Linked DNA regions of Homo sapiens: region 2 is linked to region 1. The links are contacts of gene promoters, found by promoter capture Hi-C in blood cells and fetal thymus (Javierre and others, 2016). All regions are on one chromosome and are shown on one strand. The core of a region is centred on a gene start or on the middle of the fragment in contact, and the rest is flanking DNA. Distances in the headings are between cores, read along the strand shown.

Region 1 (5,635 bases), core at 2,762-5,261:
AAAAATGTATCTTATACCTAATAATAGTAATGATTATGACAAATACTTATGTTTCCTAGATGCCAGGCACTATTCTAAGCCCTTTACACTTATTAACTCATTTACCATAAGATAGGTGCTACTATTATCCACATTTTACAGGTGAGGACAATGAGGAATTTGTCAGATTTAAGATGGCCACAAATTCTCCGATGATTCTCCCATGGGGTAGTGGAGTCTAGGTCTCCTTCCCTCCTGCACAGGCTCTGCCTTAATCAGATTCTGTGCTACAAAGCTGTGCTCATTTCCCAGGCCCAGGCCTTTAAAGAGCTAACAGCTTCCACTTCCCATCTTTCAGAACAGTGGCTATGGAAGGCCTGAGCCACCTGTAAGATGCCCAGCTAGAGAGAACACATGGAGACAGAGAAGGGTTCAGCTGGCTCCCAGGAAAGCCATCCTGACCTCTCCAGGCTGGCCCCTCCTCCAACTGAATGCCACTGAGTGATCCCAGTTGACACCACATAGAATTGAAGAATTTCTCAGCTGACACCTGCCTGAATACCTAACCTGCAGAATTATGAGATAAAATAGTTTTTGAGTCACTAAATTTGGGGGTAGAGTGTTACACAGCAACAGAAAACCTGACCATATACAGAGAAGATGGTCACACAGCTAAAAATAGGTAAGTAATAAGGGACAGAGGTGGGATTCAGAGCCAGGGAATCTGACACCAAAGCCGCATTCATAACCACTGTTTCCTTTGATCGGAATCAGCTGCCTCTTCAGTCTACTGCCTATGCCTGATTGTCCAGGTAATCCCACAGACAAGCTTTGCATTAAGGAACTGCACAATTCAGGACTAAGATGTGCTACACAAGGTGTTATAGCGTGAGAGAAGGAGCAGAAGGTTCTCTTCCATCTTTGCGACTAACTCACCTAGTGACAAGCAGTAAAAATTTTCTGTGGTGAAGACATGGACTCCATCTGTCTTATTGAACAATGTATCTCTGGTGCCTAGCAGAGTGTCTTTGACATAATAGGCACTCAATACATATTTCTGGATGGATGAGACTCTGGGCCTCAGTTTTTCATCTATAAAAATGGAGAGGTCCCCTATTGGACTAGATGATCTCTTTTAGAGGTTTTTTCCTAGTTCTAAAAGCTACAAATCTATACAAGGAATGTGATGGTGGAAAGATGGTATGAATGGCGTCAAAAAATGAAAATATGGGGGGAAAAGAAACAAGAAAAAGTTTAGATCAATGTGAATGAAGAAATGCTTCTAAAGAAAACAACAGCCAGAATGGAATTTCAACCTGCAGAGAGGACTCCTAGAGCAAAGGCCCCTCAATTCTACCAACAGGTCAAATACTACTGGATAGAATTTGTGGATGTTTTTTCAGCAGTGCCATTAATAGATTACTTCTCCAAGGGCCCACAGTTCACGCACCTTAAAGTCAAGCTTACCTCAGAGGGCTCCTAAGGAGTCTGCCCATCATCATACTTTCCAAATGGCTTACTTGTAGCTCCTCACCTCCACCCTACTCATAAAAGCACTGGCTTGAAGCAACAAACCTGGAATCTTGTCTTAGCTTTATGCTGACTCTTATCATACTGGGAAGGCCAATTGGGTTAAACAGATACTGTGTGCCTAACATGTGCAACAGATTGTCGCGAGGATGGAATGCTGACAAACGGAACAGATGTGTTCCCTACTCTTCACAGGCTCTGTGTCTCAGTTTTCCATCATTCACTTAACTTTACACAATGCCCATTATGCGCTAGGCACTGAAGGTACGATGGCAAACACATCAGATACGGTCATCCATGTCTTCATGAAGCATCAGTCTAGTGGGAAAAACAAGTATCGTTGCACTGTACCAGAGTTATTTTTTATTTTTTTCCGAGACGCAGTCTTGCTCAGTTGACCAGGCTGGAGTGGAGTGGTGTGCTTTCGGCTCAGTGCAACCTCCACCTCCTGGGTTCAAGCGATTCTTCTGCCTCAGCCTCCCGAGTAGCTGGGATTACAGGCATGCACCACCACACCCAGCTAATTTTTGTATTTTTAGTAAGGACGAGGGGTGGGGGTCTCACCATGTTGGCCAGGCTGGTGTCAAACTCCTGACCTCAAATGATCCACTCGCCTCAGCCTCCCAAAGTGCTGGGATTACAGGCATGCGCCACCACACCCGCCTAATTTTGGTACTCTTAGTAGAGATGGGGTTTACAGGGTTTCACCATGTTGGCCAGGCTGGTCTCTATCTCTTGACCTCAGGAGCTGCCTGCCTCGGCCTCCCAAAGCGCTGGGATTACAGGCGTGAGCCACCGCACCCAGCCCTGTACCAAAGTTATTAAATGGAGGAAGCAGAAATTAATTTGGGAGGGAGGGTCAGGGAAAACTTCCTGGAAGACACATCTATGCTGAAATGTGAGTTAAGTTTGCCAGACTAAAAAAATGAGAGGGCTCACTTTCTTTGAGTATTCAGGAGGACAAACAAACAAACAACAACAACCAAACCCAAAAACAGTACGAGAGCACAAACAAGACTGAAGTACACATATGTGCCCTGAACACAAAAAACATCTTGAGCACCCTGCTTTTAAGCCTCCTGGCCATTCTGTCACTTCTGTTGGAAAGTATTTCCCTCCTTGTCCATTTCTGTGAATTCCTTCTGTTATGGTTAAACTGTTCCCCCAGCACTCCAGAATGTGATTGTATTTGGAGATCAGGCTTGTAAGAAGGTAATTAAGTTAAAATGAGGCCATTAAGGTGGGCCCTAATACAACCTGACTGACGTTCTCATAAAGAGGAAATCTGGATGCAAAGAGAGACGCCAGAGATGTGAAAACACAGAGGAAAGACCATGCGAGGACACAGCAAGAAAGCAGCCACGTGCAAGCCAAGGAGAAATGTCTCAGAAGAAACCAAACCTGAAGACACCTTGATCTTGGACTTCTAACCTCCAGAACTGTGAGAAAATAATAAATTTCTGTTGTTTAAGCCACCCAGTATTTTGTTTGCAGTCCTAGCAAACTAATACACCTTCTATTCCAGGCCCAACACTGCTCACTTTCAGAGTGAAACCTTATCACCCATATACACACACCTTGGGAGTGAAGGTTTCTCACAATACTCTGTGCATCCTCCACTCAACTTTCATTCATTCATTTAAGCAACAAACACCTAGTGACCACCACTGTGTGCCAGACCCTGTTTTAAGGGCTGAGAAGAGCTAACGTTTATTGAGTACTTACTAAGTGGCAGCCACTAGTCTAAGCGATTTACATGCACCAACTCATGAAATACGACAAGGTTCCAGGGACGCAGGTGCCGCTATGACATTCGCTTTACAGATGCGGGGCTGAGGCACAAAGAGGCCACACCGTAATGAAACTGAGCTAGGCTGTGGGCTCTGTCGTCTTAAGCGCTACTCTCAACTACAGCGTGGAAGGAAACAGAAGCCGAGAGATGGGCAGCGCGTAGCGGAGGCGGGCCGGGCTGGCTTCCAGCGGGCAAAGCCTGGAGATGAGAGGGCGCGGGTGGGGTTTCCAGGCCGAGGAAGCTGCACCAGGGAGAAGGCCCGGCTCCCAGGCCCGGAACCTGGCCGTCTGGGTCTCAGTCCGCGTCCCCTGTGATGCCCGGCACAGAGCAAATGCTCGCTGACTCTCGCAGGAGCCGCCAACCCCCCGGGTATCCTCGAGTGCCCAGAGACGGGAAGGAGCGGTGGGTCCATGCCCTTCTGGGCCACCTTCGGGCGCCCGGCCTCCCTTCCCTTCCGGGCCATTCCCACCAGCGCCAGCCCCGCACGCCTTCGCAAGGCCGGCCACCTTACCCTCGGAGGCCGCTCTCTGCCCCGCCGCCTACTCTTCACCTGCAGCAGCTGCCTTCAAGGCCACTCGCAGCGATCCGCTGGCCGCGGAATCATCACGACAACGCCCCCTTGGCTTGCCGGAACCGCCTTCCTGCTTCCGTTGGCGTCACTTCCACTGGGGGGGGCGTGGCCGCGGTGCGCAGGCGCGCTGGGTGGTTCAGAAGCGAATTCTGCACCGCGAAGCCTGAGAGGCAGGTAGCTGCGGCGCTGGGCTGGCGGCGGCGAGTCCACGTGCTCCCCGCGGCCGGTTGAAACCGTTGGCGGGCGCTGGCTGAGAGGTGAGGGGTGGTGGCCCAGAGGTCCGACCTGGGAGGCTGGGGCTCAGAGAGTGAGTAGGGGAGGGACGGGATTTCCACCGTCAGCCCCTCTGGGTTACGCATGGAGGAAGGAGTTCCATTCAGATCTCACTCCTGCTCTGGGGAAGTGGCAGGAGTCCTGGACTTAGGGTGACCAACTCGTTTTAGTTTTAAAACTTAAGGTCCGGCGTCCTGGGAACTCCCTCGGGCCTGGCCAAACCAGGACGATTGGTCACCGCCCGACTGGGCTTCAGGCTTGCTGCATGTTGGAGACAGGGCTCTTCTCTGAGCCTTGGGAGATCAGTCCCTAAAGAGGAGGCCTTAGGATGTAGCGGTCCAGAGCACATACTTAGGATCAGAATAACTACTGCGTGTGAATCTGGGTTGCCACTACCTGGATGTGGGATGACCTGGTGTAAGTTTTTTAACCTCTTTGCGCCTCACTTTCCTCATCTGTCATAACATATAGAATCTAACTCGGAGAACTGTGATGAGGATTACATGAGTAGAAATGTGTTAACCTCCTATGAGAGGGCTTGGGTGCTCCATGAATGTTAGGATTCTCTGAAGCACCTACCTCTGAGGAGAGAGGGAGGAGGATGAGGTGGGGTCTGTATTTGCAACCCTGATTTCTAGCAGAGAGGGCCCACTTGGGACTTACTCACACTGTGCCCGAGGCTCCCAGGGTCTAGCATAGTGCCTGACACATGGTAGTTACTCGAGTGAAGGGATGGTGTTTAAAACAGTGCTGGTGATGCCGTGGGTGGGGTAGGAGGCAGAGAGAAATGGCTTCTGTGCCTCAGTTTGCTCATCTGTTTAGTGGAGATAGGTGCACCTACTTCCCAGGGCTTTTGCAAGGAACAAGGGAGAGATTCTCTCCTTGTGAATGTCACCCATTGTAACCCTTGTCAGCCTCATACACAAAGGTTTAGGCAGGATGGTGGACAGAGTATGTTTGTCTGTCCTTCTCTTGCACCATACCCATGGTTTCTCAGAATGCTACCCGTGGAAGGGGCTTGAGTCTTGTCAAGTTGGCCTGACTTCTTGTTTCACAGATGAGATAACTTGAAGTTTATAGAGGCAGTGGCATGCTCAGGGTCACAGTGTTCAGTGGGGGATATCCTGGGGTTGCCAGCTAGGCCCCTCAGGTGGGCTGTTTGAGTGGTAGTGGTGGTAATGATGTGTAGGTCAGTGTCTGCATGTGCATGCAAGAATATTTTAAGAATAGTCAAGGCCAAGCGCAGTGGCCCGTGCCTGTCATCCGAGCACTTTGGGAGGCCGAGGAGGGTGGATCACCTGAGGTCAAGAGTTCACAACCAGCCTGGCCAACATGGTGAAACTCCGTCTCTACTAAAAATACAAAAATTAGCCGGGCATGGTGGCATGTGCCTGTAATCCCAGCTACTGGGGAGGCTGAGGCCGGAGAATCACTTGAACCTGGGAGGCAAAGGCTGCAGTGAGCCGAGATTGCGCCATTGTACTCCAGCC
Region 2 (5,545 bases), core at 676-3,175, 1.5 Mb before region 1:
GGCCTTGGACACTAGATGAAGAAGCAGGGAAGGGAGTGTGCCCCACCCGAGCCTGCTCTCACTGGTGGGGCAGAGTGGGCTGGCATGGTCACCAAGCAGAGGGGGGTCCATGTTAGGGGGGCAACATGGTGGTACCTGATGTGGGTTTACAAAGAGAGGTACCAAAATTGTCCCAGTGCTCATCCTTACACACATTTGGGGACACTTTCACACTCTTCCTCATGAAAGTAAACATGGAGTGGTGGGGATGAACAAGAGATGGGAGTAGCTGCCATTTGCAGGGCATGTGCTCTGTGTAAGTCTTTAGCCTGTTCACCCACTGCAGTGTACTAAGCACTTTCATAACCCATGATTTTATTTTATCCTCACTACTCCATAAAGTAACATTATACCCTATTTATTTAAAGAGGAAACGGAAGCCCCAAGAAATCCAGTGTCAAAATACCAGGACTTGGTGCTCAACAAATGTGTGGGAACAAAATTAGATGTTGACCTGATCCCTCCTGACTTTCTTAAGGTCTCAGGGCAGTGTATCTGTGATTTGGTGAGATGGCCACATGAGGGCAGGCACGCACACGTTGAGAAAGTTGAACTGGAATTTTGTCCTGCAAACTCTTTGAGGCGTTGCATGGGTTGCACACCGTGCTGGGTACTAAGAGTATGGTGATTTTTTTTCTTAGAAGGCCGGATAGTAAATACTTTAGGCTTTGTAAGCTAAGAGGCAACATCTAGGATGTCAACATCTAGGATGTTATATTCAATAGCCATTTGAAAATGTACAAACTATTCTCAGGTCATGGATCGTACAGAAACAGGCGGTGGGCCGGATTTGGTCAATGGACCCGTTTGCTAATTCCTGGTCAGGAAAGGCGATATGCTTAGCAAAAGAGAGAGTGGAAGGGGCAAAGAGAGAGAGAGAGAGAGGATGACGTGTGAATTCAGATTGTGTGGTGGCAGAACCTCTTATCCATTCAGGAAGTGTCTGATTCAGTGATTATGCCGAGGAGGCATGAATCAAGGAGGCCTCCCCATTCATCTCACTCTCCATAAGACTTTGATGGAAGAGCTTCCAGTGTTTCATATTTTTGCACAAAATGGACCCTAAATAGAATGCTAAAAGTCATGTGATGCTCAATCAGCAAACCAGGGATTGGCTTCATCCTGGGAAAAAGCTATCTGGGTGCAACAAGACACAAGCTCTCAAGGAGTTTGCAAACTGGACCACTGTTCTGGAGTTATGCAATTAAACACTGCACAATTGCAATTAAACATGGACAGAAAATCCTCCTCCCCGTTGTTCTTAGAACAAGAATAACAATGAAGTTAAAAGCCACCTGGAAGGGCCCCTCCTCACCCTTGTTCTCTCAGTTTCACTCTTAGTCCTCCTGAGGCCCACAGCACCACTGCTGTCAGCCAGCCTCTTGGCAGGTTGATAGGTGACTTCATTTGGTACCAACAACACAGATGCTTTCCAACATCATAACAACCTCACAGATGCCCTTTTTAATATCTGCGTATGTTACGTTATAGAGCTGTACCATGAGTTAGTGTCTGTTTTCGTCCATTTACATTGCTATAAAGGATTACCTGAGGCTGGGTAATTAAAGAGGTTTACTTGGCTCACGGCTCTGCAGGCTGTACAAGCAGCACGGTGCCAGCGTCTGCTTCTGGTGAGGGCCTCAGGCTACTTCCAGCATGGCAGAAGGCGAAGGAGAGCTAGCGTGTGCAGAGATCACATGGCAACAGAGGAAGAAGGCAGAGGTGCTCTTTAACAACCAGTTCTTCCGAGAGCTAATAGAGCAAGAATTTACTCATTACTGTAAGGCTGACACCAAGCCATTCATGAGTGGTCTGTCCTTCATGACCCAAACCCCTCCCATTAGGCCCCACCTCCAACTTTGGGATCAAATTTCAACACGAAGTTTTGGGGGACAAAAGTCCAAACCATATTAGTGTCCTTTTTTCCAGCAGGTATTTTCAAAGTACAGACATGCAACCAGCAAGGTACAGATGGTTGTAAGGAAAAAGTTACTAAGTGCTAGGCCTGATTCCAGGCCTTTAGGGGAGACTTGTATTGCAAGAAGACATATTGTCTACCAGTGAAACAATGGGAGAAAAGAAAAGTCACTACTGTGAACCAAATTCTTAGTGGCTTACATAGACAAATCATGTAATGTTGGAGTTGGAAGGGGCTCATCTAGTCTACTGTTCTTATTGTGCAGAAAAGGAAATGAGGCCAAGGGAGTGGGGTGGTGTCTTACTCCAAATTGCCCAAATTCAAGGCATGATTAGCACTGAAACTTGAGTCTCCTTCCTGTTGCAGGTGACAACTACCTGGGGCCAGTGTTCTGCAGCTAGTAAAAAAAATTCACCAAGACAGTTGTCGGTAAAGAAAGTCAGATGTATTAGAAAAAGTATGAAAGGGTACAGTGGGTAGGTCAGCAAGAAAGGAGCCGACTGCAAGGAAACAAAGGCTTGCTGGAGATTTTATAGGATGGTGCTTGTGCTGTGTGCCGAAGAGGGCTTTGTGCAGTACTGATAATGCTGTGGTTGCAGTGAGCTAACTTACTTACGTTTTTCTGTTAGCTGAGGATCTGGTGATAAGTTGAGTACAGGAAGGCTGTGTTGTAGACCATGAAGAAAGGCAGACTTACAGCTTATTTGCTTTCTCTTTTTGATTTTCCTCAGTTCCGCCGGCTCAACTTCCCCTCCCTGATAAGGACTCTATCCTTCCCACCTTTCAGCATTATCCACCCTTCATGATTTACTCATTTAATAAATATTTGTTGAGCTCCAGGCACTGGGTTTGCTGCTAGAATTTTACATCTTTATGCAAGAGAATAGGTAAAAGTAGAATGGATGGTTGGTTTTGAAAGATTAAAATTAAGAACCTCTGCACACCACCCCCCCCCCCTTCAGATCCACCTATCGCCAATGAGGGAAGTAAATCCAGCTTGCGGAGTTCACATGCACATGCACACACATATGCACATGCATATACAAATGTGTACACACACAATATGTAAAATACCTTTGGAGTGTGGGACAGTGTGCCTAAGATCATGGGCTTTGAAAACCAACCAGTTTGGGCTTCAATCCTGGCTTCCCCACCCAACACCTGTGTCCCGCAAGACACGTGGCCTGAACCTCAAATTGCTCACCCGTAAGTTGGGAGTACAAACACCCCCTTCATAGTATGATTGTGTGCCCTAAATGCAGTAACATGTTAAAGCACCAAATGTGCGCCTGCACACAGTAGGCACTCAGTAAGTGTTTGATCACCTGTCTCAGGAATGTCGGATTTTACTGGGGATTTTGACAAGAACACCACAAGGTGGTCAGGGCTGAAGGTGGGGGGAGCCCAGGGACTGAGGGGCACAGAAGAGGGAGCAGTGGACTCTGTGGAGGCCAGGGAGGCTTCCCATGGCTGGTCCTGGACTGAGCCCTGAATGAAGGTGGGTCCAGTGGAGTGCATGGCAGAGTACATGGCCTCCAGGAGCAGCGTGGAACTGATGCTAACAGATCCCATCCAGCAGCGATTGGCGCTCTCTTTCAGGTGCCCAGATAGATGACAACAATCCCAGGCGCACCGGCCACCGCATCGTGGCGCCCCCTGGTGGCCGCTCCAACATCACCAGCCTCGGTTGAACGTGGATGCGCGGAGGAGCTAGCCTGAAGGATTCTGGGAATCATGTCCATCCCTTTTCCTGTCAGTGTTTTTGAAACCCACAGTTTTAGTTGGTGCTGATGGAGGGAGGGGGAAGTCGAAGGATGCTCTTTCCCTTTTCTGTTTAGGAAGAAGTGGTACTAGTGTGGTGTGTTTGCTTGGAAATTCCTTGCCCCACAGTTGTGTTCATGCTGAATCCACCTCGGAGCATGGTGTTTTCATTCCCCCTTCCTAGTGAACCACAGGTTTTAGCATTGTCTTGTTCTGTCCCTTCCACTTCTAACTCCACTGGCTCCATGATTCTCTGAGTGGTGGTTCCTTTGCACCCTGTAGATGTTCTAGGATAGTTGATGCATGTTACTAAATTACGTATGCAAGTCTGTGAGTGCGTCTGAGGGGACATCGCCAAGGACTGACTGAGACACGATGCCGAGACCTCAAGCCCTGAGGGGCAGTCCCAAAACCCTTACAGTGAAGATGTTTACTCATTGCCCCCACCTCTGGTCCACACTAGAAAGAAGCTCGCCCCACCTCCACCTGTGAGATCCGTGAATTCTCGGAATGGCAGGGGAAGCCTTGCACTAGGTTGCAGAGAAGCATCCTCCACATCCTGTGTCAGAAACCCTGGTCTCCGTGGCACTTGTAACTCACCGTGCTGTCTTCTGGTCTGTGTGTGTTCTTCAAGCCAGCTCTAGGCTTCAGGCCGAGCCAGGTTCACACTCAGAAAGAGGTCTCCCCATCCCCATTCGGGGCTGACGATGGGGGGCTGATGGCTGCCCCTGCGTGGCCTGAGTCCTGGTCCCTCTGAGGCAGTTGACGGGGCAGTCAGATTTTTAAAGTTTTGTACAAAGTTTTCCTTTGTAATCACTCCCATTTTTACTTAACAACCAACTTGTTGTGGCTCTTATTTCTGAATTCAAAGCTTGTGAAAAAATAAAGAAAATGAACTGCCCACTGACCTGACTAGGGCACTTTCATTTCAGTGGTGGTGTCTGGATTGGGTACGAATGCTTGGCAGTCCCCCCGCGTGATAACGAATGGTGGTGGCTGCTTCCTGAGGACTCACTCTTGGTAGAGACTGGTGGATGTGGGGGTGGGAGGAGAGATTCAGTTCATGACTTCTGAAGGCTGAGTTCCTGAGACCCAAGGAGGCGAAGAGAGGGAAGACGGCTGATGGGCGGGCTTCCACAAAATAGGCTCAAATCTTGCATTGATTCCCTCCTGTTGGGCCTTTCCTGGCTCTCTTTCTTCTTGTATTGTATGGATCAGCCTCAGACTGGAAGCTCCAATCTCCTAAACTTCACATTTCTTCCTTCCATTTCCATGAGCTAGAGATACACTAAAGGACGGATAAAAACAGCAGGCAAAGTTGCTTGCTTCCATTAGCTGTTGTTAGTAATAGTGATGACAATGATGGTGGTGACAGTAATGATGGTGGTGATGGTGATGATGGTGACGATAGTGGTGATGATGATGGTGGTGTTGGTGATAGTGATGAAGTTGCTGGTAATGACAACAAATACATGGGCTGATAGCTGTATAGCAGTTGCTATATGCCAGGTGCTCTATGAGGTAGGGATTATTATCCCCATTGTACAGATGAGGAAACTGACTCAGAGTGAGATCAATAACTTGTTTAGGATCACACACTTAGGAAGTGATGGAACCAGGATTTGAATCCAGGACCCAGGCACTTTGGGCCCTAGTCCAAAGCTCCTTGCTCCTAATTACTGAGCTCCAAGGGCATTTGAGGCAGATGGCTTTGGATGCTCTGGTCCCACATCAACGCAGGGCTTTTCATGTACCCTTCTCCTCCCCCGCTCCTCGGCTTCGTGTGGATACCTTTGTCAAGGTTGAAAGAAGTGTTGGCTCAGGGTC

What was found. The method cuts DNA at HindIII sites, captures the fragments that hold promoters and counts their contacts. A CHiCAGO score of 5 or more calls a contact.
Region 2: a contact is called between a fragment that was not itself captured here and the fragment with the promoter of LYAR in region 1, in 1 of 17 cell types (naive B cells). The highest score is 5.2, in naive B cells.

Annotation. Positions count from the first base shown.
Region 1 is chr4:4,288,530-4,294,164 of GRCh38, reverse strand. It overlaps LYAR (Ly1 antibody reactive), which reads left to right and starts at 4,011. Exons shown (of 10, transcript NM_017816.3): 1 at 4,011-4,129. It overlaps ZBTB49 (zinc finger and BTB domain containing 49), which reads right to left and starts at 3,914. Exons shown (of 8, transcript NM_145291.4): 1 at 3,813-3,914. RefSeq lists enhancers at 4,986-5,523, 5,524-5,635. The HindIII fragment of the contact is 4,525 bases long and covers 1,444-5,635 here.
Region 2 is chr4:5,819,863-5,825,407 of GRCh38, reverse strand. It overlaps CRMP1 (collapsin response mediator protein 1), which reads left to right. Exons shown (of 14, transcript NM_001014809.3): 14 at 3,557-4,644. The coding sequence ends at 3,648. It also overlaps a transcript of EVC not described here. Among named protein-coding and RNA genes, the nearest start is that of CRMP1, 70 kb to the left of the region's middle. The HindIII fragment of the contact is 5,333 bases long and covers 1-4,591 here.